4 separate regions of the Homo sapiens genome follow, and regions 1, 2 and 3 are each linked to region 4. Evidence: promoter capture Hi-C in 16 types of primary human blood cells and fetal thymus (Javierre and others, 2016). All regions are on one chromosome and are shown on one strand. The core of a region is centred on a gene start or on the middle of the fragment in contact, and the rest is flanking DNA. Distances in the headings are between cores, read along the strand shown. Region 1 holds the start of LMBR1 (limb development membrane protein 1). Region 2 overlaps RNF32-DT (RNF32 divergent transcript). Region 3 overlaps RNF32-DT (RNF32 divergent transcript). Region 4 holds the start of PAXIP1-AS2 (PAXIP1 antisense RNA 2).

Region 1 (7,028 bases), core at 4,529-7,028, 2.0 Mb after region 4:
GTGAGCCTTGAGATTGTGCCACTGCACTCCAACCTGGCGACAGAGTGAGACTCCATCTCAAAAAAAAAAAAAAAAAAAAAAGTTAAACACTATATTGTACAAAAAAATTAATTCAAAATGGATCAGACCTAAACCTAAGAGCTAAAACTATACAACTCTTAGAGGAAAACCTTCATGATGCCAGTTGGTGATGATGCCAGTTGGTGATGAATTCTTGGATATGACACAAAAAAACACAGGCAACAAATGAAAAAATAGATCAATTGGACTACAAAATTAAAAACTTTTGTGCATCAAAGGACACTAGCAATAGAGTAAAAAGGCAACCCTACAGAATGGGCGAGAAGTGTTTGCAAATCACATGTCTGATAAGGGGTTAATATTCAGAATATATAAAGAACTCCTAAAACTAAACAACAAAAATCAAGCAACTCAATTCAAAAACAGGCAAAGAACAGATATTTCTCCAAAGAAGATGTCCATATAGTCAATAAGCACATGAAACAATGCTGAACTTCACTTATAATTAGGGAAATGCAAATCAAATCCAGCATCAGATACCATTTCACATCCATTTTAAAAAAAAGAAGAAAAACAGAAAACAATGTGTGTTGGTGAAGATGCGGAAGAACCAGAAACTCTGGCTCCTTGCTAGTGGGAATATAAAATGGTACAGCCTCTGTGGAAAATGGTATGGCAGTTCCTCAAAAAAATTAAACATAGAGGCCGGGCGTGGTGGCTCACGCCTGTAATCCCAGCACTTTGGGAGGCTGAGGCGGGCGAATCACGAGGTCAGGAGATCAAGACCTTCCTGGCTAACATGGTGAAACCCCGTCTCTACTAAAAATACAAAAAGTTAGCTGGGCGTGGTGGCGGGTGCCTGTAGTCCCAGCTACTCGGGAGGCTGAGGCAGGAGAATGGCATGAACCGGGGGGGCGGAGCTTGCAGTGAGCCGAGATTGAGTCACTGCACTCCAGCCTGGGAAACACAGCGAGACTCTGTCTCAAAAAAAAAAAAAAAAAAAATTAAACATAGAATTATCATATGATCCAGCAATTCTACTTCTGAATTGAAAGCAGGGACTCTAATAGATATTTGCATACCCATGATCACAGCAGCATTATTCACAATAGCCAAAAACAGAAACAACTCAGGTCAATTGATGAATGAATGGGTAAGCAAAATACAGTATACACAAAAAGAAAATATTATTCAGCCTGAACAAATTCTGGGCCAGGCACGTTGGCTCCCGCCTGTAATCCCAGCACTTTGGGAGGCCAGGGTGGGTGCATCACTTGAGGCCAGGAGTTCAAGAACAGCCTGGGCAACATAGCAAAAACCCCATCTCTACAAAAAATTAAAAAATGAGGCCAGGCACAGTGGCTCACACCTGTAATCCCAGCACTTTGGGAGGCTGAGGCAGGTGGATCACCTGGGGTCAGGAGTTCAAGACCAGCCTGGCCAACATGGTGAAACCCATCTCTACTAAAAATACAAAAATTAGCCAAGTGCGGTGGCGCATGCCTGTAATCCCAGCTACTCGGGAGGCTGAGGCAGGAGAATTGCTTGAACCAGGGAGGGAGAGGTTGCAATGAGCCGAGATCACGCCACTGCACTCTAGCCTGGGCAACAGAGAAAGACTCTGTCTCAAAAAAAAAAAAGAAAGAAAAAGAAATTTTGACACATGCTACAACACAGGTGAACTTTGAAGGCATTATGCTAAGTGAAATAAGCCAGATAGAAAAGGACAAATATTGTATGGTTCAACTGGGAATAGTCAGATTCATATAGGCAGAACCAGCAGCTGGAGAGAGTGAAGAATGGAGAGTTACTGTTTCATGGGTATCAAGTTTCAGTTGATGAAAAAGATCTGGAAATGGATAGTGGTGGTGGTTGCACAACAATGTGAATGTATTTAACGCCACTGAACTGTATATTTAGATATGGTAAATTGCATGTTATATATATATATCTTATTATGATAAAAAAGTTAAGCAATTATAGCATTATGTAGCAAAATCAGAAAGAATTGAATAATTTTAAAAATTGGCAACAGGTCTTAGAGAAAAAGTATTTACATTCACTCTAAATATAAATCATTTGAGAAAGAAATGCCAAAGACTGGGAACCCTGAGCCTGGTCACTGTCTGCGCTGGTTCTGTAGAAGATGGAGTAGACTCAACCAGCCAGGGGTACTGGGTTGAGGGAAACAGGTGAGGAGAGTCAGAACTAAAGAACTCCATAATCGGTACCAAAACCGTTTTCAGGGGAGTAGACGAAGCTCTGGACTGTTTTACAATGTGTCCCTTTCTCAACCCAAATTCTAGAATATCTAATTAATTAAAAGTAAAGCCAAAGAGCAGGAGGATCACTTGAGCCCAGGAGACAGGTCTGGGCAACACGGTGAGACCTCACCTCTACAAAAAATTAAAAGATTAGCTGGGTCTGTTAGTGCACACCTGTATGATTCAAGCCTGTAGTCCCAGCTACTTGGGAAGCTGAGGTGGGAGGATCGCCTGAGCCTTGGAAGTCAAGGCTGCAGTGAGCCATGATTGCGCCACTGCACGACAGCCTGGTCAACAGAGGGAGAACCTGTCTCAAATTTTAAAAAATAATAAAACTAAAGACAAATAGACCAATAAAACCACATAAAGTCCAAAATTAAACCCTATGAATATACAGTTACCTATCTGTGACAAAAGTCCTAAATAGTGCTGAAGCAATTGGACATTCCTGTGGGAGAAAAAAATATGACTCCTACCTTGCACCAGACACAAAAAAATAAATTCGAAATAGATTGCAAATTTAAATGAGAAGAGTAATTCAATAAAGCATTTAGAGAAAAGAAGAAGAGAACATCAGTCTTAGAGTAAGGAGAGATTTCTTAATCGGGACATTAAAAGTACTCAAAAAAATTTTAATAAATTGAACTATATTAAAATTAATAATTTCTGTTCATCAGAAGATATCATTAAAAGTGAAAGGCATCCACAGAGTGGGAAAGAAATATGTGCAGTATATATTTCTGACAAAGAAATCATATCCACCTGTATAACAATATAATACAAGTTATTCTGTAAAGACCTTGCAAATCAATATTAAAAAGATAAACTTAATTTTTAAATGGGGAAAAAAATTTGACCCTTCACAAGATTTCCAAATGGCTAATAAACAAACAGGTGCTCAAATTCATTAGTTATCAGGAAAATGCAAATTAAAATTATTTGTATGATGAACACTATAACACACTTGCTAGAATGACTAAAATTAAAAAGGACAGAAAATATCAAGTATTGATAAAGATGAGTAACAACCACACCTCTGAGACTGTCAGTACTGGCGGAAGTGTACACTGGTACAACCACTTTGGAAAATTGTTTTAAAGTATCTACTAAAGATGAACAAATGCACACTCTTTAACCTAGGGATTCCATTCCTAGGGCTATCCCCAACAGAAATGCACAAACATGTCCACCAAAAGCTATGTACAAAAAGTTCATAGCCAGCCCGGCGTGGTGGCTCATGCCTGTAATCCCAGCACTTTGGGAGGCCAAGGCAGGTGGATCACCTGAGGTCAGGAGTTCAAGGCCAGCCTGGCCAGCATGGAGAAACCCCGTCTCTAATAAAAATAGAAAAATTAGCTGGGTGTGGTGGTGTGTGCCTGTAATCCCAGCTATTCAGGAGGCTGAGGTAGGAGAATCACTTGAATCCCGGAGGCAGAGGTTGCAGTGAGCCGAGATTGTGCCACTGCACTCCAGCCTGGGAGACAGAGCGAGACTCCATCACAAAAAAAAAAAAAAAAAAAAAATATATATATATATATATATATACACACACACACACACACACACACACATATATACATACACATATATATACACATATATATATTCATAGCCAAAACCTAGAAACTACTGAAGTGCCCATCAACAGTAAAATGAAAAATAAATTGTGCTATAGTCACACAACTACTGCACCGAGAATGAATTATAACCACATACAACATGGAGAAATTTCACAAACATTGTACAAGAAACTGGACACAGAAGAGTATATACGGTAAGATTCCATTTACATAAAGTTCAAAACTAAGCAAAAACTAATCTATGATATTAGAAGCCAGGGCAACGTTTACCCTTGGTGGAGGAGAAAGTAATTGGAAGAGGGAAAGGAATCAGTCTCTGGGATCCTAGTAAAATTGTGTTTATTTATTTATTTTTTTATAATGGTAGAGATGGGGATTCACTATGTTGCCCAGGCTGACCAGTCTCAAACTCCTGGTGGATTCAGGAGTACACAGGCGTGTTTAGTATGAAATGATCTGAAGGGTACATGTATGATTACATGAACTTATCTCTGTGTATTTTAGCTTCAATTATAAAAATTACAACTAAATGTGTACCAAATTCCACTAACTCAAATTCCACCAGCTCAGACTTTATATGTCCTCTTTATTCAAAGTATGACTTCCAAAGTGATTCTCAATTTTCAAGATCAGTGAGTACACAAATTAGATAATTCTAAAGCAGAATTTTTTCACCTCAAACCAAGTGTGACTGAATCGTAGACAACTTAGGAGAGGCGTAAATATAAACATAAAAAATTGACATATTTTACAACAGTTATGAAAACACAGATAAACCCAATTACAATACATTCTAGAGCATCATGAAAAGATAAAAACATCAAAGTAGACTTTCCAAGGTCAAGTCCGCTTCCTGACTCCTGCCAACAGCACACATGGAACATGGGCCAAAAAAGAAGCTGCTTCCCTAAGAAGTTGCTTCCATAGCAAAATGGACTTTTGCTGAGGTCCTCACTCCCAAAAATAACCAATATTCTCATCCCAAACGGTAAGGTTTCGAACTCAACCCACGTGGGGGCTGGGGGAGATGAAAGAGGGATGGAAACGTGAGGCGCCAGGAGGGCAGGAGGTGTTGACCGGGACAAGGTAACCGGCCGGGTCCAAACGCGAGAGGCGGGCGGGCTCCGCGCAGCCCGGCCCTTCCCGGACCCGCCGGGCCCACCCAGGCTCTCCGGGACGCCTGCGCATCCACCTGCCTACCTGGCCTGGCGGCGGAGCGCGGGGGCGCGCACTGGCGGGGCCGCCGTCCACACCCCGAGGCGCGAGCCGCACACCCGCCCAGAGAGGAAGCCCCTGGGGTCCCAGAGCGCGGCGCGCACCGCAGCCCTCCCCGCGGGAAGGGAAGGGCAGCACCGAGGCCGCGGGGCGGGGGCGGGGTCGGGGCTCGAACGGAGGGAGCGCGAGGGGGCAGGGGAGGCAAGAGCGGAGCGGGGGGGCAGGCAGAGGAAGCGAAGGGGAGGGGAGGGGAGAGGAGAGGTGGGGAGGGAAGGGGAGGGGAGGGGAGAGGAGGGGTGGGGAGGGAGAGCGGCAGAGGCCGGGGCGGGAGGCGCGAGGCGAGGCCCGGAGGTGAGGGGTCCGGGGACCGGGGGCCCGGGGGCGGGGACGGAGGGCCCGGGCGGGCACGCGGGACTGTCAGGGCTGCCTCGGTCCCCACGCACCGTGGACTCCCGCACTTGGCTGTGGAAGTGCTGCTCCCGCGCCGACACCTCGTCCTGCCCTTCCATCCTCCTTCATGCCCGCCGCCGCGCCGCCCGCGTCCGCGTGCTCCGCCACACCATCGTCCGCCCGCCGCAGGGGCTCGGACAGCCGCGCCGGGGACCGGAGCCGGCACGGGCCCGCGAGCCGTGTTGGAACAGGTACCGCGACCACGACACCGGCCGTCGCCTCAGCAGCCTCAGACGAGCAGCTCTGACTAAGGGAGGGCGGGCGCCGCGCAGTCGGGGGCGGGGCGGGGGCGGGGCAGGGAGGGGAGGGGGCGGTGCAGGCATACGTCAGACGAAAGGCGCCGATGCGTCAGAAAAGCGCGCCTCGCGGTCTTCCGAGCTGCTGGGCCGGGAGGCGCTGAGGGGGCGGGGCCTTGAGGTCGCGGGGCGGGGCTCCGCCCACGCTCTCAGGGGCTACCCCAGTTAAGGAGGCGCTGTCCTGGCGTCGGATGGGGACGGGGAACGCGGCGAGGGCGCTGCGACCTCTGCCCACCTGGCCCGGCCGCAGTCTCGGAGTTCCTGTTCCTCACAGGAGCTAATTATTTATGACAGCTGCATGGTTCCCCTCCCCCAGTTACTCAGTGCTTGGCACTCGGCACCCCTTACTCAGCACTCAGTACCGCACTCGGCCTCAGGGGACCTGGGCAGAGGGAAGCAGGGAGTCTCCCGCGGAAACTCTTGCTCTGCCAAAGTAGGTTGAAAGGTCGGAAATCGGTGGTTTGGGGCCGGGCTTTGGGCGGAAACCCAGCTTCTCTGGGTCTGAGAAGGGTCTTGGGCTGCCCCACCTGGAAAACGCAGATAACCGAGCTCGCTAGACCCTTGCCAAGTCCTTCCGGTAGCTCGGTCACTAGGGTCAGTTTTATGACTCTCAGTGGACCCTAAACAGCACGTAATATATGTATTTTTCACCGCCAAATATATCAAACACAATAATTCACCCTCCGTTCCCTATTATCTTTCTTTTTGTTATAAAATTTGAATTTAAGGGAATGTTTATAATTTTACCTTAGGATTTATTTGGCTACGAGGAAGTCATTTAAATTGCTAGTGGCTGCGATTTTTGTTTTTGGCATCTTTGAGAATTCTTAGGAAGTGTGAAAATCTACAAATTGCTTTCAAATGTCATTTAGTTTTTGTTTTTGTTTTTTTTTTTTTTGAGACAGAGTTTCACTCTTGTCGCCCAGGCTGGAGTGCAATGGCGATCTCTGCTCACAACAACCTCTGCCTCTTGGGTTCAAGTGATTCTCCTGCCTCAGCCTCCCGAGTAGCTGGGATTACAGGCGCCCGCCACCACGCCCAGCTAATTTTTGTATTTTTAGTAGAGACGGGGTTTCACCACGTTGGCCAAGCTGTTCTTGAACTCCTGACCTCAGGTGATCCGCCCACCTCGTCCTCCCAAAGTGCTGGGATTACAGGCCTGAGCCACCGCGCCCGGCCGTTGTTTAGATTTTTATGAATCT
Region 2 (7,085 bases), core at 2,669-5,168, 1.7 Mb after region 4:
GGGCAGTGCAGAGGGGAAATGTGGGGTTGAACCCCCCTATAGAGTCCCCACTGGGACACTGCCTAGTGGAGTTGTGAGAAAAGGGCCACCATCCTCCAGATCCTGAAATGGTAGAGCCACCAACAGCTTGCACCATGTACCTGGAAAAGCTGCAAGCACTCAACCACAGCCTGTGAGAGCAGCTGCAGGGGCTGATCCCTGCAAAGTCAAAGGAGCAGAGCTGTCCAAGGACTTGGGAGCCCACCTCTCACACTGGTGTGTCTTGAAATTGGGACATGGAGTCAAACAAGATTATTTTGGAGCTTTAAGGTTTAATAACTTCCTTCCTGGGTTTCAGACTTCAAGTGGGGCCTGTAGCCCCTTTCTTTTGGTGGATTCCTTCCTTTTGGAACAGGAGTATTTACCCAATGCCCATACTTGCATTGTATCTTGGAAGCAACTAACTTGTTTTTTTTATTTTACAGGCTCATAGGTGGAAGGGACTAGCCTTGTCTCAGATGATACTTTGGACTTTTGAGTTAATGCTGGAATTAGTTAAGACTTTGGGGGACTGTTGGGAAGGCATGATTGTATTTTGCAATGTGAGGATATAAAATTTGGAAAGGTCAGGGGAGGAATTATGTGGTTTGGATCTGTGTCCCCACCCAAAGCTCATGTTAAATTGTAATCCCCAATGTTGGAGTGAGGTCCCAATGTTGTAATCCCCAATGTTGGAGGTGATTGGATCACAGGGGCAGATTGCTCCCCTTGGTGTTGTTCTCATGATAGTAAGTTCTTGTGAGATCTAGTTATTTAAAAGTGTGTGGTACCACCTCCCAACCCCAAAAACTCTTAACATTATTTTAAATTTACATAACAAGTATTACCTTTATGGCACTTTTCTTGGTCATCTTGTCTTAACTATGCCTTTATGTACAATCTTTTTCCTTTAAGCCTAAAGTCTCAGCTCCGAGCTTTTCAGATATAAATTTTCTACCTTGTTTCACCTAACAGTCATCCCTAGAAATGCAAATTTAGGGCTGCCTAGCTAACAATTGCTTAGGGCAATGAAACAGGTAATTGGAAGATTAAGTCTGAATAGGGAAATAAAAACTATTTGAAAGCCAGCAAATGAGAATTACTTGTAAAAGCTATAAGCTCTGCTTCTCCATGTGTCTGTATGTTGATATGTATTATGTGTATAATATTTGGCAAATAAAGCTAGCTTTAAAATTGTTGATAAGATAGAAATGGCTTCAGAATTGTTAGTTAAATATAATTCAGATATTTTTGGCTAGATCTACTGGTCAAATAGGTTTATGCTATCTCTACATGTTTTTAAGGGCATAAAACTGCTGCTTCTATAATACTTTATATACTTTCTTAATTTGTCTGTAATATTTTGTTCTTGGTTTTGAGCCTCTGGATTCTGGGGTCTGGATAGGTGGCCATAGTGAGGCCTGAGGACATGTTATCAGTGGCCAGACCACCAATTACTAGGCAGAGTCAAGCCCAAGATGAGCCCCTTCTTCCTTGGCCCAGCTTTGTCTCCTAGCCATGCTGAAAGGGTTTGGATCTCCCAGGCATCATCTTCACAGGTGTCTTCTGTCTTGAGCTCTACATTTGGTATGTAAATTCAAGACCCAAATAGGCCCTGCCCTTCAAAGCCATCCTGGATACGATGTGACTACTTGAGACTCAGAACAACTGAGGAAAATATTAGCAGGAGAGTACCTGTGTCATTGGCAGGAGAGTACCTGTTTCAAAGTTCTTTTCCATAATTTAAAATCTTAAAGTTATGCTATATTGAATTAAGTAATAAGCATAAATGTCTGAATCATTTCTAAGTAAGTTAAAATACTGAAACATTAATTAGTAAACATAAATTTAAGTTTATATATTTTGGCATCTTATTTTTAGATGGTATAGAAAAGCTACATATATTTACATCTATTAATAAACTTGAGAAAACCTATCTAAAAAGTTATGAAATAGTTTTCATCTACAATTATTGATATAGAACAGTTCAAAACTACTTCCTAGGCTTTCACTAGAAATTAGGGTTACTAGTAGTTAAAACTGTAGTTAATATATGTAATTGAAACTAATAGATATAAAAAACAATTTTGTATATAGTGTCTAAAGAAAAGCAAAGTATTTTTCGGTAAGGAAAGTTGTAAAGGCATGAAAATGTGTGTTGAGAAAAAAAATAATTTTGTCTAGAAGCTGAAGATTGTTTCAAATTGAAGGAATAAAAAAGAAAGATAAATGAATAAAGTTGGAAAGAATAAAAAAATTGTAAGAGATTATAAAAAGTTTATGGAAATTTTCTGTGGTCAAAAGATGACAAATTGGACAGATCTGTTTATAAGGTTTTATTAGCTTAGTGTTGATAATACACTATGCAAAAGTAAAATTTGGTTTTCCCTTTTGAACAAGAATTTTCATGTAGTATTATTAATAAGAGGTAGTAAAAGACTTTTGTTCACCTTTTGAGTAAACTGCAAAAGAGAGACAGAGGAGAGAAGGAGACAGATTCTGTCTCATGCTGTCTTTCTCAGATCTGTTGATTGGAAAACTGAGTCTCCCCTCTATCAAAGAAGAAAGGTTTTTGCTTTCTAACCCCTTTTATCACTTTGGCTAAATGAATATTATCTTACAATGCCTTGTGATCCTATTTTGATTATTTTAAGCCTTTGACATATTTGACAGCCTTCCCAAAATCAAATTTCAAATTGTCTTTTTTTGTTGTTACCTCAAACTAACTTTGGGATGCTACAGAGGGCCCCTGCAGCATCCAAAAGACAGAGAAACAGGATTATTTGCTATGTTAAGTTTATAAGCAAGTAAAATCCTAGAGTATCATGCCTTCAAGGAGATTCATGAAAAGGATGGAAAGGACCCTGACAAGCACTCTTGAATGCGAAGTTTCTGATGTCTTTAGGATCATATCGTTTAGACTGGGTATGAATTACCAGCACTCTAATGAACACACTGACTGGCTTATGAAACTGATAATCCAATTAGGATAAAAATTAATTGAATACCAAGGAACTACTCTGCCAGATCTTCAAGCTAAGTCAGCCAGTACTGAAATTGTTTTGATATGTAGTTTAGATGAATTCCATGATCCAAGTCAAATTTACCTATGATAACCCATCTAATAAACAGTGCTATGCACGTGAATTGGAGAAACAAAACTGATATTTAAGAAGACATAAATCTTCCATTTTGCAGCTATCACTGAAGCAGCAATCGCCAAAATGAAGTTCAATCCCTTTGCGACTTCCAACCGAAACAAGAACCACAAAAGGCATTTCAATGCACCTTCCCACATTTACAGGAAGACTATGTCTTCCCCTCTTTCCAAAGAGCTGAGACAGAAGTACAACGTGTGATCCATGCCCATCCAAAAGGATGATGAAGTTCAGGTTGTACGAGGACACTATAAAGGTTAGCCAATTGGCAGAGTAGTCCAGGTTTACAGGAAGAAATATGTCCTCTACATCGAACGGGTGCAGTGGGAAAAGGCTAATGGCACAACTGTCCATGTAGGCATTCACCCCAGCAAGGTGGTTATCACTAGGCTAAAACTGGACATAGACCGCAAAAAGATTCTTGAACAGAAAGCCAAATCTCGCCAAGTAGGAAAAGGGCAAATACAAGGAAGAAACAATTGAGAAGATGCAGGAATAAAGTAATCTTATATACAAGCTTTAAAACTTGAAATGAAAAACAAAAGGAAGATATAAATCTAATGTTAAGGATGGACTCATGGAGCCTGGACAGATGCCTGGTCCTTCCTGAATCCTTAAAGCTTCCATTACTAAAAGCTCTACACTCCAAGGCCCATCATGGAAGAGGTAAGATGATCCAAATAGAATATTGGCATGTTCTAAATTGCTAAAATAGTTTATGTCCAATGTTTGGTTTGTCAAATCTACAATCCTGGGAAGGCAATCAAAACTTCATGTACATTTCTGCTACATTATAGGCCACTGAAACATTTTTAGAGGGATTTCATTCCATTGCCATTTTCAATGCATGTTTTCTGATTGTATAGAAGCTTTTCCATTCAAAAAGTCTCGTGCTGTAACAGTAGACAAAAGGTTATTAGGAAACATGTTTCTCTCATGGGACATACCTGGAAAGATTGCTAGTGATAGAGGTACTTGTTTCATCAGACAAGTTGTAAAACAATGAGATAAGGTATCATAGGTACAATCACATCAGGCAAAGCTAACTGAATTGACTGGATTTCCTTGGTCTAAAGTACTGCGGATTGATGACAGATCCACTTCCATGTGCAAAACGTTAAGTTGATCCCTTATGCAATAGTCACTGAAGGCCTATGCTCCTAATAATAAAACCTCACACATCTTCTCCTCCTAAGCTCTGATATGACTAAGTGCTGCCAGGCTTTAATGCATTATGCCCAAGTCTATTTTCACCAGGTAAAGAAAGCTTTCCATGGTCCACTGAGGACAAACCCTACATGATCTAAAGCCTAGAAACTGACTCTTCTGGAAACATCATCAGGGAAAGACTGCCCCTGCCACTTACACTGCAGCAAAACTTCAGCACCTTGAGCCTTGGGTTTACAATCTCACAGCTGAAATGGGCCCCTCCAGACTCTTCAATCTATACACTTGTTGGAGACCTTAAGGTAAAGCTAACCAGGAAAGTTTCTCCCTAAAAGCAGACAGCATCCTAGATGTGGACAGCTTTCCCAAGATCATGGATCAATACTTTTCTGCTATCATGAGACTCTTATCTCTCAATAGTTCCTTTGCTTGTGCCTCTATGAATAGAACTGCAGAAGGGGTCTCTCCTGTGTACTTGTGGGGTATACTTTTATTTGCGGAGAATTTCATAGTCAACATTAAACATGAACAACCTTATTGTACATCAATTTTAACAAATATAGCATACAAATGGCAAATAGGGGAAACTGTTGCAAGGAGAGGGAGCTCTCTGTATTATTTGTTCAATTTATCTGTAAAATTTATTAAGAAAATAAATCTATTAATTAAAAAAATTATCTGGATGTGATCAGGAAACATCCTGTCTCTTGATATATTTAACATATTAGAGCATCAGCTGATTCAATTTTTAGAGACATTCAGCTTTAGCCAAAGTGGTTGAAACCAGTATATGTATTTATTTCCCAGGTTATTTTAGAGTTTCTACTAATAACCTGACATTTATGCTTTTACAAACCTGTCAAAACTTTCAATTAAGGCAGAAAAATCACAAATGTCTGAAAGGAGTCCACATTACCCAAACACCTTTCATACAATCAGTATGCCTAACAGCTTTTGGCAACATTTTTGAAGTGTCTGGTATCTGGTGATCACAGTGTAGATAGCAAGAATATCTCCATCGTGTCAGATATTAAGGCATAGTAGGACATTATTCTTTACCAAAGTGATAAATTACTTCTAAGTATATTGAATTCAACAACAAAGAATGAATTTGCTCCATTTTTTAATTCGGAAAACAGTTTTTAAAGGCTCGCTTGTTATACCCGTGACTTTAAATTATAGAGTAAGAATGAAAACAAGATTTCTCCTCTCTTCTCCAGTGTCGGAAGTGTTTTCATCAGTGTTTCTCTACTACTATTTTAATGTTGACAGGAATGATGTCATCATGATATGTCTGCCACAGGTATTTTTTTAAATGCATTTTATCAGAGGAGTGGAAACAACTCATCCTAAGCCCTTTTTCATTATTAAAGACAAAACAGAACTATAATATAATCTCTAGGAAAAAAAAAAAAAAAACACTTCAGTAAGTTCCCACAAGTATACCTGAGTCTTTACAGCAACTGCTGCTACAAAACACTCGGAGAGATTGGCAAATTTCCAAACAATTGCTGGACATCACATACTGCATAATATAGGCAATGACTTAGAATTATTTGAAAAAATAATCTGGGTGGAAGCAAGGGTGTTAGTTTGTTCTCATGCTGCTAATAAAGACATACCCGGGACTGCATAATTTATAAAGGAAAGAGGTTTAATTGACTCACAGTTCCACATGGCTGGGAGGGCTCAAAATCATGGTGGAACAGGAAGCAAGACAGGTCTTATATGGCAGCAGGCAAGACAGAGCTTGCGCAGGGCCACTCCAATGTATAAAACCATCAGATCTTGTGAGACTTATTCACTACCACAAGAATAGTATGGGGGAAACTGTCCCTATGATTGAATTCTCTCCACCTGGCCCTGCCCTTGACACATGGGGATTACTTACTACAATTCAAGGTGAGATTTGTGTGGGGACACAGCCAAACCACATCAGCAAGTTAGGAATAGAAATTGATAATAAATATACAAGTGTGGGAGGAGGGATAGCATTGGGAGATATACCTCATGCCAGATGACGTGTTAGTGGGTGCAGCGCACCAGCATGGCACATGTATACATATGTAACTAACCTGCACATTGTGCACATGTACCCTAAAACTTAAAGAATAATAATAAAGAAAGAAAAAATAAATAAATAAATAAATATACAAGTGTGAGTAGAAAGTTAAAGGTAATACAGAAGATTAAGAAAAATAAATGGAGAGATGGTTTTGGTGAAGGTTAAAATTGAGAACTAAATTAAAGATGAACCCCATGCCACCAATTTCTGCTCCTTAGGTTTGTTTTAGATGTCAAGGACTGTGTTAAGAGAGACAAGAGTCAAATAGGCACTGAGTAGGCTTTGAGAATATTTTGTACATAACAAAGGAGAAATGTGAGAGCATTAAGATACTAAAATGTGAGAAGGATATTGAACTAAGAACCATTCTGACCCTGCCTAGGCTTTCATTAGTGCAGTGTTTAGAGACTAGGCAGGTGGGCAAATTCAAATATTATGGGTATGATACATTAAGAATCCATAGGCCAGGCACGGTGGTTCACGCCTGTAATCCCAGCACTTTGGGAGGCCGAGGCAGGCGGATCACCTGAGGTCAGAAGTTCAAGACCAGCCTGGCCAACATAGCGAAACCCCGACTCTACTAAAAAATACAAAAATTAGCTAAGCGTGGTGACGGGCACCTGTAATCCCAGCTATTCGGGAGGCTAAGACAGGAGAATTACTTGATCCTGGGAGGC
Region 3 (6,591 bases), core at 2,863-5,362, 1.6 Mb after region 4:
AAAGCCTCCAGGCTCCCGTTCAAGTCCCATTGTTTCCCTAAACACTTTCTGCAGGGGCTCCAAGTTGTGATCTCTCCACGTTCCTTGGTGCGGATAGTAGATTCTACACATTCATTTGGGAATTTCTGTACAGAATTGACATTTTTATTTTTATTTTTGAATTACACATTATTTTCCCAGCTAGACCATGAGATCATTCAATTTAGGAGCTATTTTATAGGTTTGGACACTAAACATTTTACAGTGTCCAATGATGATAACTAGTACTTGTTGGCAGTTGTTACATAATTGCTATGTTTTAAGTGATTTATCTAAAAACTCTTTAAGGTAGACGCTATTATTCCCTTCACTTTAAAGATGAGGAAACTGAGCAAAAAAGGTAAAGCCATTGAGCGGGAACATGATGGAGCTGGAATCCCACCCAGCTCTGCCTGCTCTGCAACCCACGTCTGCATGGCCATGTGAACCTACACCTCAGCACAGGCTCGAGGAGACGGCAATCAGTGACAGACAGCAGGCTTGTGCATGTTTAACTGAGAAGGCTGAGAGCAGCCAATGCTAATGAACACTTCAAGTCCACCACATCCTCCAGCCACAGCCATGCAGCCACACACCACACACTACTACCACTGTCCACACTCAATCCCTGCGGCTCACCACACACGGAGGGGGGTGCTGGCATGAAGGAGGAAGCATGTCAGGCTTCTCAGCCTCACGTCACCCACTGGCCAGGTGCTAACCTCAGATGACTGACTCCACCTCTCTGACCCTTGGCTTTCTCGTTCCTATAATGGAGCCAATCATGCACTCTGTGCAGGGTTGCTATGAGGGTTACAAGAAACCCATACAAGGAACGTCAGAAGCAATGTCCCCAAGGCAGCTGGTCACTGGCAGTTATCTGTTAGTCTGTACAACAGGTCTGGCATCTCCCTTGAGCTATAAACCAACCATAGACTGCAGTCCCACGTCTACAGGATGGATGGCCCACAGGCTCATCCCCACCACTCCCCATGCTCCTGCCACACTGAGCTCCGTCGCTTGACAACCTCAGAGCTGCTTACTGCCCCAGGAATAACAAACCTAATTCTTTCAGGACGTGGCCTGGCCCATTTCCCTTGCTTCCCACGTGCAATGTGCCTTTCTGGAATGCCTGTCCACTTGGCAGACTCCTACTCATCTGGATGACTCAGCCCAAAGCCAGCTCCTCCCAGGAGTGTCCTCAAGTCCCTAAACAGGGCCAGCCCTGCCTCCACCCCACCCCCCCATGCTCAAGCAGCTCCTTCCTCCATTTTGATCTTATTTCATGCCTGATCAACCTCATTGATGTGTCCTGAGCCCTGGGCTGCAGGCTCTTGAGGGCAGAGTTCGCATGCTTGCCTGGTACAAGGTGCTCAGTAAACGCTGATGGAATGAATGCACAAATGCACAAGCAGATGAGAGAGAAGGAAAGAAAACAACAAGAAGAGATGGAGACCAGGAGAGGCCGTGAGAAGGGAAGAAGGAAGAACAGGAAGGGAAGGGCACGTGGCCTAGGACCTGAAGACAGCAAGTGGGCACACTGCCATCCCCCCAACTTATAGGGTCCACATGGGAGACACCCATGCTTTGTGTCCTCAGGGTCCCATCAATGCCCTACTCAGGCAGAGGAGAATCCCAAATCCCACCTTCCTTCTCCTCCAAAAGAAACCACTCTGTGTCCATCTCTCATGGTGCCAGATTCCACTAGAGGAGGTGGGAAGAGTGGTTAATGAGTTTGAATCCAACATGGCTTTGAGAGCACCAAAAATCCACACCAGGTTTTTCTCTCTGCAAAGCCCTCTGTCTCCTCCAAGCAACCAGCTTACAACTTCCCCAGTGAGCGAGTCATGGAGCCAAAGTCAATCCATTTCTATCTCCAACCCCTGCCCACAGCACGTCCCTGCATGGGGAAAAGCACGGACAACAGGAAGGTTTAGCATGGGTATTACAAAAAGGGCTTCAGAAAATTATATTGAGAGGCTTTGCAGTCTTCAACTACCTATAAGTCCACCTCATTTTTAACTTTGGGGGGCATCATCCATGTTTCTGTATGATTTTTAAAGCTTCGTCCAGCAGTAGGTTCATGATCAGGCAGCCTCTCTCAGGTCCCAAGAACACCGTGGGGAAGTGCACAGGGCTCCCAGCCCAGAATCCCTGTCTGTGACCACAAGGGTTTGCTTTCCTTTGTGAAATGTATGTCACTCTCCTTCTCAAGAAACTTCAGCAGGGGAAAGCTCAAAGCTTTTCCTCTAAGATCAGAAACAAGACAAGGATGTCCACGCTCACCACTTCTACTCAATGTAGTACTGGAAATCCTAGCCAAAGCAATTAGGCAAGAGAAAGAAAGAAAAGACATTCAAATTGGAAGGGAAGAAGTTAAATTATTGTTGTTAGCAGACAACATGATCATATCTATGGAAAACCCTAAAGACTCCATCAAAAAACTATTAGAACTAATAAATGAATTCAGTAAAGTTTCAGGATACAAAATCAACATACAAACATCAGGAGCCTTTTTGTACACTAATAGGGAAATATTGGAAAAAGCAATGAGGAAAACAACACCATTTACAATAGCTACAAAAAATAAAATAATTAGAAATAAATTTAACCAAGGAGGTGTAATATCTCTACACTGAAAACTATAAAACATTGATGAAAGACACTAAAAAGGAAATAAAAAGATATTCATGTTCATGGATTGGAAGAATAATATTGTTAAAATATCCGTATGACCCAAAAGTGATCTACAGATTCAATATAATCCCCATCAAAATATCAACGATATTCTTCACAGAAATAGAAAATATATAATTTATATGGAACCACAAAAGAACAGCCAACGTTATCCTGAGCAAAAAGAGCAAAGCTGGAGGCATCACATTACCTGACTTCAAAATATACTACACAGCTATAGTAATTAAAAGAGCATGGTGCTAGCACAAAAACAGACACACAGACAAATAGAACAGAATAGAAAGCCTAGAAATAAATCTGTGTGTTTATAGCCAGGTGATATTTAGCAAACATGCCAAGAACACCCAATGGAGAGAGGAGAGTCTCTTCAAAAAATGATATTGGGAAAACTGGATAGCCACATGCAGAAGAATAAAACTAGATCCTTGTCTCCCACCATGTGAAAAACCTACTTAAAATGGATTAAAGATTTAACTGTAAGACCCAAAACTATGAAACTACTGGAAGGAAACACAGGGGGAAACTCCAAGGCATGGGCGTCTGCAGTGATTTCTTGGATATGACCTCAAAGCACATGCAACAAAAGCGAACACAGACAAATCGGAATGCATCAAACTAAAAAGCTTCCATACAGCAAAAGAAACAATCGACAGAGTGAAGAGACAACTTAAGAATGGGAGAAAATATTGCAAAACTGTGCATCTGATAAAGGGTTAGTCCCCAAAATACATAAGGAACTCAAACAACCTAATAGTAAGAAAACAACCCAATTTTTAAAAATGGACAAAAGATCTGAAAAGATCCATCTTTGGATCCCATGTTGTCCAAGCCTGAATTCTTGAGAAAATTCTTTTCTGTGAGGGACGAGCCAGGAGGACTGAGATGGAAGTGAGGATAAAGGAGGTAACAAAGTTGTGTTTGATAGTGACGCTTCGGACGACGGCCTCAGAGATTCTCCGAATGGCAGGGTGGGAAGGCTATAATGGTCCTAAACTACTTCTTCATGTCCCAGTAAAGAAACTGAGGCACAGGGAGTCCAGTGGCTCACCCAGGAACCCCAGGTCAGGGCCTTGGACCAGGGCTTGGTAGCTCTGCCTCTGCTGACCCTGGAGGCAGTGACTTCAGGAGGTGAGGAAGCCCTGGGTGCTGCCCAGCCCGAGGCAGGCCTCCTGGGTCAGACGTTCCTGCTGCCTGAGGTCCGTTCATCCCAGCCACCCTCCCCAGCTGCCGGCTCCCCTTGCCTTGCAATTCACATGCCAGCCTCGGGGCTGCCAGCCGAGCTCATCCTTGTGTCCTCCAGCACCCACCACGTCCTCCCTGCCCGCTGCGGGCCTTGGCACCTTTGCCAGGGCTGCCCCCACCCCCAGCCCCAGCTGTCTCGGAGGTGTCAGAGCCTGAGAGTCACCCCCAAGAGCAGCCCTCTCTGACCCACCAGGCAGGCCATGCGACTGCCTATGTGCTCCTACAGAGGCCTGTGCCCCACCCTGGTCCACAGCTGACCTGTGTGCTGCACACTCACCTCCTTGCTTATCTGTGTGACTCCGGTTGGAGGGCTTTCTCCTCACTAGGCTGTCAATTCTGAGGGCATGAACCGAGCCTATCTTGTTTCTGCATCACTGTGGGGCCCAGCAGGGCCCAGCACCCAACAAATGTGTGTTGAATTGGGCCCCCTGAGCCGAGGGTGTGGATTAAACGACCCCCACAGAGCCCTTCTAGCCAAAAGGTCTGCCATCTCAGGGGTGTGTGTGTTGACAGAGAGAGGGAGGGAAATCAATTTAAAGTGAGAGAGAGAAAAAAAAATGCTGCATCTACAGTTCTTATTTATTTTTCCATTCCAATTTTATGTAATTCACAATAAAAAGATGCTCAATGTCATTACTCATTAGGAAAATGCAAATCAAAACCACAGTAAGATAGCACCTCACACCCACTAGGATGCTATAATCAAAAACTGGGAAAGAAGTGTCGGTGAGGACATGGAGAATGGAGGTCCTCACACAGTGCAGCAGGAATGCAGAGTGGTACAGCTGCTATGGAGAATAGCTTGTTCCCCACAAGTTAAGCATGGAATTACTGATTGGTGGTATCGTTGGATATTCACTGGAATATAATACTCGCCATCATGACTGCTACTGTTGTTTTACTCAATAGTTATGAAAAGAGGGAAAAAACAAAGCTTTATAAATTAAATCTATTATATCAACCCTTGAAGGAACACTGTAGTAAATTATTTTATAATTGTTCTATAATTCACCCTGTAATTTATTGATCTATAATTCTTTTGGGAGAGGCAGACCTGTATCATTAGCACTGTAACATCAGTTAACACTTCCCTTAAAGCAAAGGATGTAGCAATATCCCCCAAATTAAGTAATAACGTGCAGCTCTTACTGACAGTGTTTTAAATGACACTCTCTTGGGCAAGTAGAGGCATAATGGCTGGGCTAGTGAAACAAGAAAAAGAAAGAGGAGGGGAGAGAGAGAGAAGGAGATGAAGACAGAGGGAGGAAAGAAGGAAGAGAGAGAGAAGGGGGAGGTTGGGGTGGGGATAGTTATCTTGAACACTTGAAGCGTGTGGTCAGACACTCAGCCCTTTCAGTGTCACAATGATGAGTGTGTAAGAGTGTGCGTGTGTGTGTATGTTTAGATGGCTAGGGAATGCGATTCTGAAAGTTTCCAGAGATAGAGAATTGCTCAAAAGGGAATCCCAAACCCAAGTAACAGCCAATAAGCTCCATTCCAGGACACATGAGGTTCTAAGAAGGGTGAAGGAGAATTGAGTTGTACTTTACCCGGTTCACTTTCTGGCAAGTGCTTCTTCCAAATAAGGGTGCACAAGCTACTGCAGAATCCCTAGGGGAAAAGATATTCTAAGACATAGAAACAGAATCTGCAGGGTGACTTAGAGATGTTCTTAGTGGGTAAAGAACTTCTCGGGCTAGTTTCCTGTCGGAGACACTATCATTCAAAATATCTGACTGCTATTTATTTGGGAGTTCCAAAATTTCCTAAAGTAGGGAATGAAATAATGGTAGGACATTTTTAAAATAAAAATGGGTTCTGTGCAGCTAATTGGTTACTAATGTTTAAATTGTGCAGACATATGCCAAGCATCTGAGCTTTTGGAGAGATAACACATCATCCTTGCTGATAGACTGCTCCATAGCAGACACTGTCGCAAAAGCACCCTCAGAAATGAAACAGCGCGGGCCAGGGAAAATAGTAAATTCAACCTCACTCACGAAAAAGTAAGAAAACACACCACGTTAGGCATCCGCATGCTCCGTGGAAGCCCAGCCTTCACCTTCAGAGATGTGTCAGGAGGAGGTGCCACTGCTGTCCCAGTGCCAACCTCGAAAGGCTTAGCCATACCTCTTCCACCCATTTTACACTCGCTGCTCGTGTTTTCAGGCTGTATCCCATCTTGAAGTGAAGACATTCTTTAAGTTGGCTGCCCCACGGCGTTGGTGGCCATGAGAGGAAACGTGAGGCTCCGTCATTCTGTGATTAGGTGGAGACGTCTGAGGAGCTGCGTGAGGAGCAGGCAGGTGCTCTGGATGTAACCTGAGACAGCTTTGGCTTGTTTCCTACTGTCCCTTTTAAACCTGTTCTCTGGACACTCTCTGTCCCTGGATGAAAACCCAGGTGGGACGTATACATTTTCTAATCAGTCCCAGGAAATAAGAAGCGCTTTGGCCACGTGAAGTCAACAAATGCATCCAAAGTCAGCAATTTAAAATGCCCAGTCTGCTCCAGACACCAAAAACTCTGCCCTGAATAAATCGACCTTTGCCACCCCACCAAGGCCGCTATGGCCACCCAGCTCCTGCTGCAGCTCCACGGTTCATGACGCTCCTCCTCCAGCTGGCAGCTTAG
Region 4 (6,667 bases), core at 4,168-6,667:
TGCAATAGCTAAATATGTCTCCTTTACTATTAAAGGCTATAGATCTGCCTGCTGTAATTTTTAATGGAGATAACTGGTGTTTACCAAAAGGGATCGACCTCAGATTAAGCAGAAACAGTGGAAGAGCTTTTAGCCAAGGAATTTGAAAGACCTCCATTAATTTTGCCAGTTGAGCTTTGATTATTCTGTTTGTGTGGTCCACTAACCCAGATGACTGGGGGTGGTCAACACAATGGAAATACTGGAGAATGGGCCAAATTTAACGTACTGGTTGGATGACTTATCCAGTGATCCCAGTGTCTCTGTCATTATGAAGCTCCAGAGGAACTCCCCAGGCTGCAATAATGTTTTCTAAGAGAATTGTACTCACCCTAAGGTCATTGCTCTTCTACATAGAAACACCTGCACCCAATGAGAAAACATGCCAATCATTACCAAAATATATGTGTATATTTGTGAGAGCGGCAACTGGACGGAATGTAATTGCCATACTTTGACAGAGGCCTCCCTGGATTATTTTGGGGGCAAAGGTAACAACTGTACATCCTGTGTGCTACAGTCAGAGAAGGTTTCCAAAATATCGTTTCCCTCAAGCAATCACTCTGTCAGGCTCTGGGGAGTTATGTCATGTGCATAAGTTAGAAATGATAACAAAAATTCAGCATGAAGTAGAAGCATGTTGTTTGATCCATATCATACCTCGTCTTTGGGGGAGTATGTTCCCCCTCTTTGCTTTCCAACTTTTATGTTCTGGTTTTGGAGCCCAGATTGAGGTAATTTTATACAAATGCAGGTGTTTCTTTTAAGATTACTGTAGATTATTTTTCTTGTTTAGATACATTTACAGTAGCTCTTTTTACTACCTTATTAGCTAGCTGATTTCCTTTGCTTTCTGGAGTGTTTGATTTAGAATGGCCTGGAATTTTAATTATGGCCAGTGACTTTGGTAATAATATGGCTCCCAACAATTGTGAAATGAGGTGTCCATTTTTTATGGATTGACCAGAAGAGGTGAAAAATCCTCTGTTTCCATAGCATTCCAAAATCATGAGCTACTCTGAAAGCATATTTACTGAATATTAGTAATGAATATTATCAACAATTATTCCTTTCGCCAACTGACAAACCCTGATCAATGCAATTCTGCTTGTTGATGTGAGGTGGCTTCTGGAAGGTAAGCCTTTCTATTTCTTCAGTTGAAGATACTGTTGTGTAACCTGCTCGGTAAGTCCCTGATCCATCCTTTAAATAAGAGCTGCCTGTAACTCAAACAACATCAGCATTAATCAGTGGAGTCTCTTGCAAGTCAGTCCTAGGAAAGAGGAGCCAATCAACTGGGGCTATGTGATTATGCAGTGTTTCATCTGAAAATGAAGGCAGAAGAGTGTCAGGATTTAGGTTACACCTGGAGATGGTGATAGGAGAAGCTGAAAGAAGTAAAACTCATGTGAAGCTCGTCTACTAATTGAATAATGTCCAGTGTGGTGTGAGTTTAGTGATGCTTCCACAGAATGAGGGATAAAAACAGTAAGGGGAGTTCCCACCACAGTTCCTTGGGTCATCTTAATGAACAAGGTGGTTGCTGTTATATCTCTCATGCAAAGAGGCAATCCTTTGGCTACCGGGCCTAACTGTTGGCTGTAATGCCCTACAGGTCTATTTCAGCCTTCATGTTTCTGAGTCAGATTATCTAAAGCATTTCCATCATTTTCATGTACAAACAATGAAAATGTGAGGTTATAATTTACATGCCCCAAAGAAGAGGCATTGGCAAGACCATTCTTAGTCATTTCTAATGTTAGTTGACTTTCTTTTATCCAGTCTAGAGGGTTTAAAGTTCTCTATTAAGAGGGCATATAAGGAAGGTGGGCGCAGTGGCTCATGCCTGTAATCCCAGGACTTTGGGAGGCCAAGATGGGTGGATCAATGAAGGTCGGGAGTTCAAGACTAGCCTGGCCAACATGGTGAAACCCCGTCTCAAGTAAAAATACAAAAATTAGCCAAGTGAGACTCTGTCTTAAAAACAAAAAGGAGGGCATATAAGGATTGGGCTTTTAAATAAAAATTTGGAATCCAATTTCTACAATATCCTGCCAGTCCTAAAATCCCACTCAACCATCTCTTCATTCTTGGTTGTAAAAAGCTGAGATCCTTTCTAGTCTGTCTGAATTAATAAAACATCCTTCCTTGGATATTAGGTGGCCTAAGTATATCACTTGTCTTCGACAAAATTGAAGTTTCTCTTTAGAGACTTTGTTTTCTTAGGGCTGCCTTTTGTAATAAATGTAGCCCATCATTCACAGAACATCTTGTTTGCTCTCCAAGATGGAAGTCATTTATTTACTGGATTAATGTATGCATTTCCAGGAAATTAACATCTGAGAGGCCTATTTTTAATATTTTTGAAAAGTAAGTCAGGCTTTCAGCATATCCTTGGAGGCCTGTGTGACCCAGTGTATTGTCTGTTTTCCCAAGTGAAGGCAAAGAGAAATTGGCTATTTTTGTCTACAAGAATGCTAAAGAATGTACTACATAAGTCTATGACTGTAAGGAATTCCACATTAGAAGGAATGGCTGTGAGTAACATAGGCTTGTGCAGTATAGGGTGCCATGGGATTGCCATGTTGTTTATTGCTCTCAAGTCTTGTACAAACCTCCATTCTCTAACATTTGGTTTTCTTACCAGGAGGATTGGGGTATTACAATGGCTTGTACAAGGAATGAACAGTCATCTTTCTATATAATCTGACATTATAAGCTTTATCCCTCCTAGAGCTTTAGTTCTCAAGGGGTATTGTCTTGTATTTTGAAGATGTTTCCATGGGTATATTTAAATATTTATTGGAGTAGCTGAGATGATAGTTTCTATATCAATGGAGGACACTGACCACAATGGATCAAGTACTGTCTTTAGTACATTTTGTAATTCTTCATTAAGCAATAATTCATTGTCTTTCATGGCAATATGGATTGCAATTGGATTAGATTTTGAAAATTTTATTAAAATATCTGTTGTGTCTCAAAGTTGAGTTTTATAATCTAATTTTAAATATATTTCCTTCCTTTGAGAGAAAGAAATGTGGGTATCACATAATTCTAAGCAGTTTCTTCCTGTTGAATGGATGGGGTCTGATGGAACAAAGAGGAGGGCATGAGTTCCTTGTAACGAACACTGTTGAAAGGTTACAGGCTGAGATTGGTATGCCAATACAGGAGGATTGTGATGCCCACCATTTGAATTCTTTGTTTACTGCAAGGAATGGGACCTTGTACCAAGATGGGATTAATTCCAGATAATGTGGCTCCAGTGTCAATAAGTGCTTGTGTTAGTTCTCCATTTATAATAATTTTTATTTCTCCCAGTGTTAGTAAGGAGGAAATGAAAGGCCCCTTTAAGTTCCTTGGAGCACCCCTGTTTTCTTTTCTGCCTCCACTGGTTAACATTCTTTCCTTTTTCATTTTTGGCAACTCTTTTGAAAGTAATCATGCTTTTTGCAAAAATTGCAAAGTGGAAGGTTAGGTCCATTAGGGAGTTTCTAGGGGTATTGTGAAGGCCAAAATTGTGTGAATAGTTGTTTTAATTGTAAATTCATAATTGTATTAGCCTCGCTCTTTTGTTTGGCTTCCCTCTCTCTTTCTTCTTCAGTTAAGGTATCAGATAACCGGTCAATGAGACTGACCAAATCATGAGTATCAGAAGTGGCCCAACTTTGTCTTTTCATTGTTAGTTCCAATTCATCTAACTCATTTGTTAAACTGGAGTCGAGTATCATTTCGATGATTAGCACAGCTTTCTTCGGATAAAACTAAATATTCTTTAAAATTTTTTCCACAGCCCTCAAAGTATATTACTGACTCATCTGAATTTTGTTGATATTGTATTTTGTTCCAGTTGACTACTCTGAAAAACTGAGGAGATAGCCTGATGCAAAGCCTTTGCTGTTCTTCAAGCCTGTCTATGGTCCTCTTCTGAACATTTATGAAGATCCCTAACAGATTTCTCCAGTGAGCTTTGTCTAGCCAGCCTTTAGCTTTAATTTTTGCTACTAACATGTGAATCTGTTGCTAGAAGTCAGAATAACTAGGGTCATAAGCTTGGATATTTAATTCAAATTTCCTAGCAAAACCAATAGGAACCTGGTGAAGATCAAGGAATTCTTTTAACTATGCCTGTAAGTTTGATCATGATTGATAAAGCAGGTTCCCCTCTACCAGATGCTGGATGAAATGGAGCCAAACCAGTGGGAGCAGGAGGAGGGGCAGGAGGAGGAGGAGGAGAAGGTCAATCAGGGCTGGGTAGTTCTGACAAGGAGGCTTAGAGAGACAGGGGAGCAGGGAGAGAAGAAGACATTTCAGTGTTTTTTAAAATTCAGTAATGGTTTTAGAGTGCTTTTTATTTTCTTCCTCTAAGGGAAGAATTCTGTCAAAACCTCTTTTGGATGCTTCTGGGTGCCATTGGAAGTAACTCTCTTAATTATTTTATTTGATTCCATAGCTGGCTTTTTAAAATTGTGCATATAAATAAACTAATCTAGCTATTTCAAAGATAATTCTCTTTGATCATTGTAATTTAGGATCTTCTTAGGTCAAATAAGACCATTTCTCCAACTATCGACAGGAGGTGGCGCCATAAGTCTTGTACATAAACCCCGCTGGAGTTTCCAAAGGTGCATTGCTTAATGAGGGCTTGGTTATAGATGGATAATTGCTCATAATTTGGATTCTCTTTTAAAATGCCCAAAGGCTAAAAGGGAAAAGTGTTTGGGGTCCAGTGTGCTGCTTAGTAGGGATTATTCCTGGAGGTATCACCTACAAGTAGCTTCTTCCCTCTTACCTACCTCAGAGAAACCCAGACATTTCTGGGAGTTCAAGGCACTGGGTGACGAACCCCTTGTGTGTTGTGTGCCCCGGGGGTTAAGCAGCTCTCCCTGTGAGTTCTTCTCTGGGGTTTGTTGTGAGCTTCCACACCCTTGTGTTACCTCCATTGCCTAAGGTGCCTTTCAGCTGGGAGAAAGAGTCCTTTTTGTCTTCAGCTTATCACGTCCTCATTCCAACCTTTTACAAATTTTGGGTGACTCAGGAAGAAACTTTAAATCTCAATGTTAACCAAGATCCAAAGCCTGGCTGGTTTAAAGCCACAAATTTGGCTTAAGCCACAAACATTCACTTTCTCCTTTTACAAAGAAAACTGCTTTCTCTTTAACCAAATGTCAAATGAGAGAAAAGGTTACAAACTTGAGCAAGTAAAAAAATGTCCAATGAGAGAAAAGGTTACAAACTTGAGCAAGTAAAATGTCCAATGAGAGAAAAGGTTACAAAAGAGCAAGTAAGACGAACGAAAACTTAACCTAATAGAAAAGTGAAACCACAAACCTGCCAATAGCAGAATCTTTAGAGAAATGACGCGAAACTCCTGCCTTAAAGCCCTAAATGGCGGCTTCAATATCAGTCCCACTGAGCATGAAATTCATTTACTTAAATAAAATCTGAATCTCAGCCCAAACCTGGGAGATTCAAAACCTGAGAGCGGTCTTACCAAAGACGCCCGTATGTCTGGTGAAGTCAGTTGGATGCAAGCAGTTTGTGCTGGTACCAGGGCCCCAGCTACTGATGAAGTGGCAGGAGTCCACAGAAGCCTACTTCGAAGTTCCCGGGGCTTCCAGGGGAGGTGAGAACACAAGTGATGGGAGAGCCTGGGGAGGGACTGTCTGGTGAGTAAAGGTTGTGCTGCTCTGTGGATGAAATGTCTCTGAGGTCGTAAACATCTCAGAGCCGCCTTCGGGAGAACGGGTGATAGTCATCTGGGCTGATGTCACCTCCAGTGTCCTCTCCTGTGATCTGTGTTAATCCTCCCAGATTGACGAGATTCCTGGGGAGGCGATTCATGACAGCTGAGTTCCTTTTGGAGGATCCGTCTTCAGGCAGGTAAGGGGAGCTCAGAGGAAACCTCTGCCTGCATCCGCTGATTCCCAAGTGCCCTCAGCTCACAGGGATCAGCACTCCCAAGTGCCATGGGGGTGGCATTTCCTGAACTCCTTCAAAGCAATAACAACAGGCTGGGCGTGGTGGCTTACGCCTGTAATCCCAGCACTTTAGGAGGCTGAAGTGTGAGGATTGCTTGAAGCCAGGAGTTCAAGACCAGCCTGGGCAACATAGGGAAACCCTGTCTCTACAAAGAATTAAAAGAAAACTTAGCCAGGAATGGCAGTGCACACATGTGGCCCCGCCTACTCGGGAGACTGAGGTGGGAGGAGTGCTTGAGCCAGGTGGTTGAGGCTGCAGGGAGCTGTGATTGCACCACTGCACTCCAGCCTGGGCAACAGAGTGAGACTCTATCTCAAAACAAACAAACAACAACAACAAAAGTGAAACAATAACAACAACTTTTACAAAACGGACATTTGGGATCTACATGCCACACTCCTAAATGCGTCTCTTAAGCAACAGGTGTCACAGTCTTAAACCTTGTCCTTACCCTCTTCATTCTAGGCACCTGTTTCATTCCAGGTAGGGCTTCCTCCTGGTTTCCTAACACAGCGGGTTGAGATGAACAGCAGAGAAGGACACTGCACACCTCTGCAGGGTCTCCCCTCTGGCCCACCAGCCCTCCCTTCTCCAGCAGTGAAGACCTCACTATGTCATCCAGGCAGGAATAATATAGACAGAA

Evidence for each region. The method cuts DNA at HindIII sites, captures the fragments that hold promoters and counts their contacts. A CHiCAGO score of 5 or more calls a contact.
Region 1: a contact is called between the fragment with the promoter of LMBR1 here and the fragment with the promoter of PAXIP1-AS2 in region 4, in 2 of 17 cell types (activated CD4 T cells and M2 macrophages). The highest score is 5.4, in activated CD4 T cells.
Region 2: a contact is called between a fragment that was not itself captured here and the fragment with the promoter of PAXIP1-AS2 in region 4, in 1 of 17 cell types (total B cells). The highest score is 7.2, in total B cells.
Region 3: a contact is called between a fragment that was not itself captured here and the fragment with the promoter of PAXIP1-AS2 in region 4, in 1 of 17 cell types (M2 macrophages). The highest score is 7.7, in M2 macrophages.

The regions. Positions count from the first base shown.
Region 1 is chr7:156,887,405-156,894,432 of GRCh38, forward strand. LMBR1 (limb development membrane protein 1) reads right to left here and starts at 5,779. Exons shown (of 17, transcript NM_022458.4): 1 at 5,524-5,779. The coding sequence starts at 5,589. LOC102723795 (a long non-coding RNA gene) reads left to right here and starts at 5,994. Exons shown (of 4, transcript XR_928253.3): 1 at 5,994-6,259. RefSeq lists silencers at 4,871-5,370, 5,421-6,000. The HindIII fragment of the contact is 17,725 bases long and covers 1-7,028 here.
Region 2 is chr7:156,630,113-156,637,197 of GRCh38, forward strand. The region is part of intron 1 of RNF32-DT (RNF32 divergent transcript); the gene reads right to left. It also overlaps the pseudogene RPL26P23. Among named protein-coding and RNA genes, the nearest start is that of RNF32-DT, 6.9 kb to the right of the region's middle. The HindIII fragment of the contact is 249 bases long and covers 3,795-4,043 here.
Region 3 is chr7:156,474,688-156,481,278 of GRCh38, forward strand. It overlaps RNF32-DT (RNF32 divergent transcript), which reads right to left. Exons shown (of 4, transcript NR_026865.2): 3 at 5,978-6,591. Among named protein-coding and RNA genes, the nearest start is that of LINC00244, 63 kb to the right of the region's middle. The HindIII fragment of the contact is 1,553 bases long and covers 3,337-4,889 here.
Region 4 is chr7:154,923,100-154,929,766 of GRCh38, forward strand. It overlaps PAXIP1-AS2 (PAXIP1 antisense RNA 2), which reads left to right and starts at 5,418. Exons shown (of 8, transcript NR_024476.1): 1 at 5,418-5,668; 2 at 5,857-5,925. RefSeq lists enhancers at 5,499-5,558, 5,579-5,678, 5,829-6,048. The HindIII fragment of the contact is 7,419 bases long and covers 4,093-6,667 here.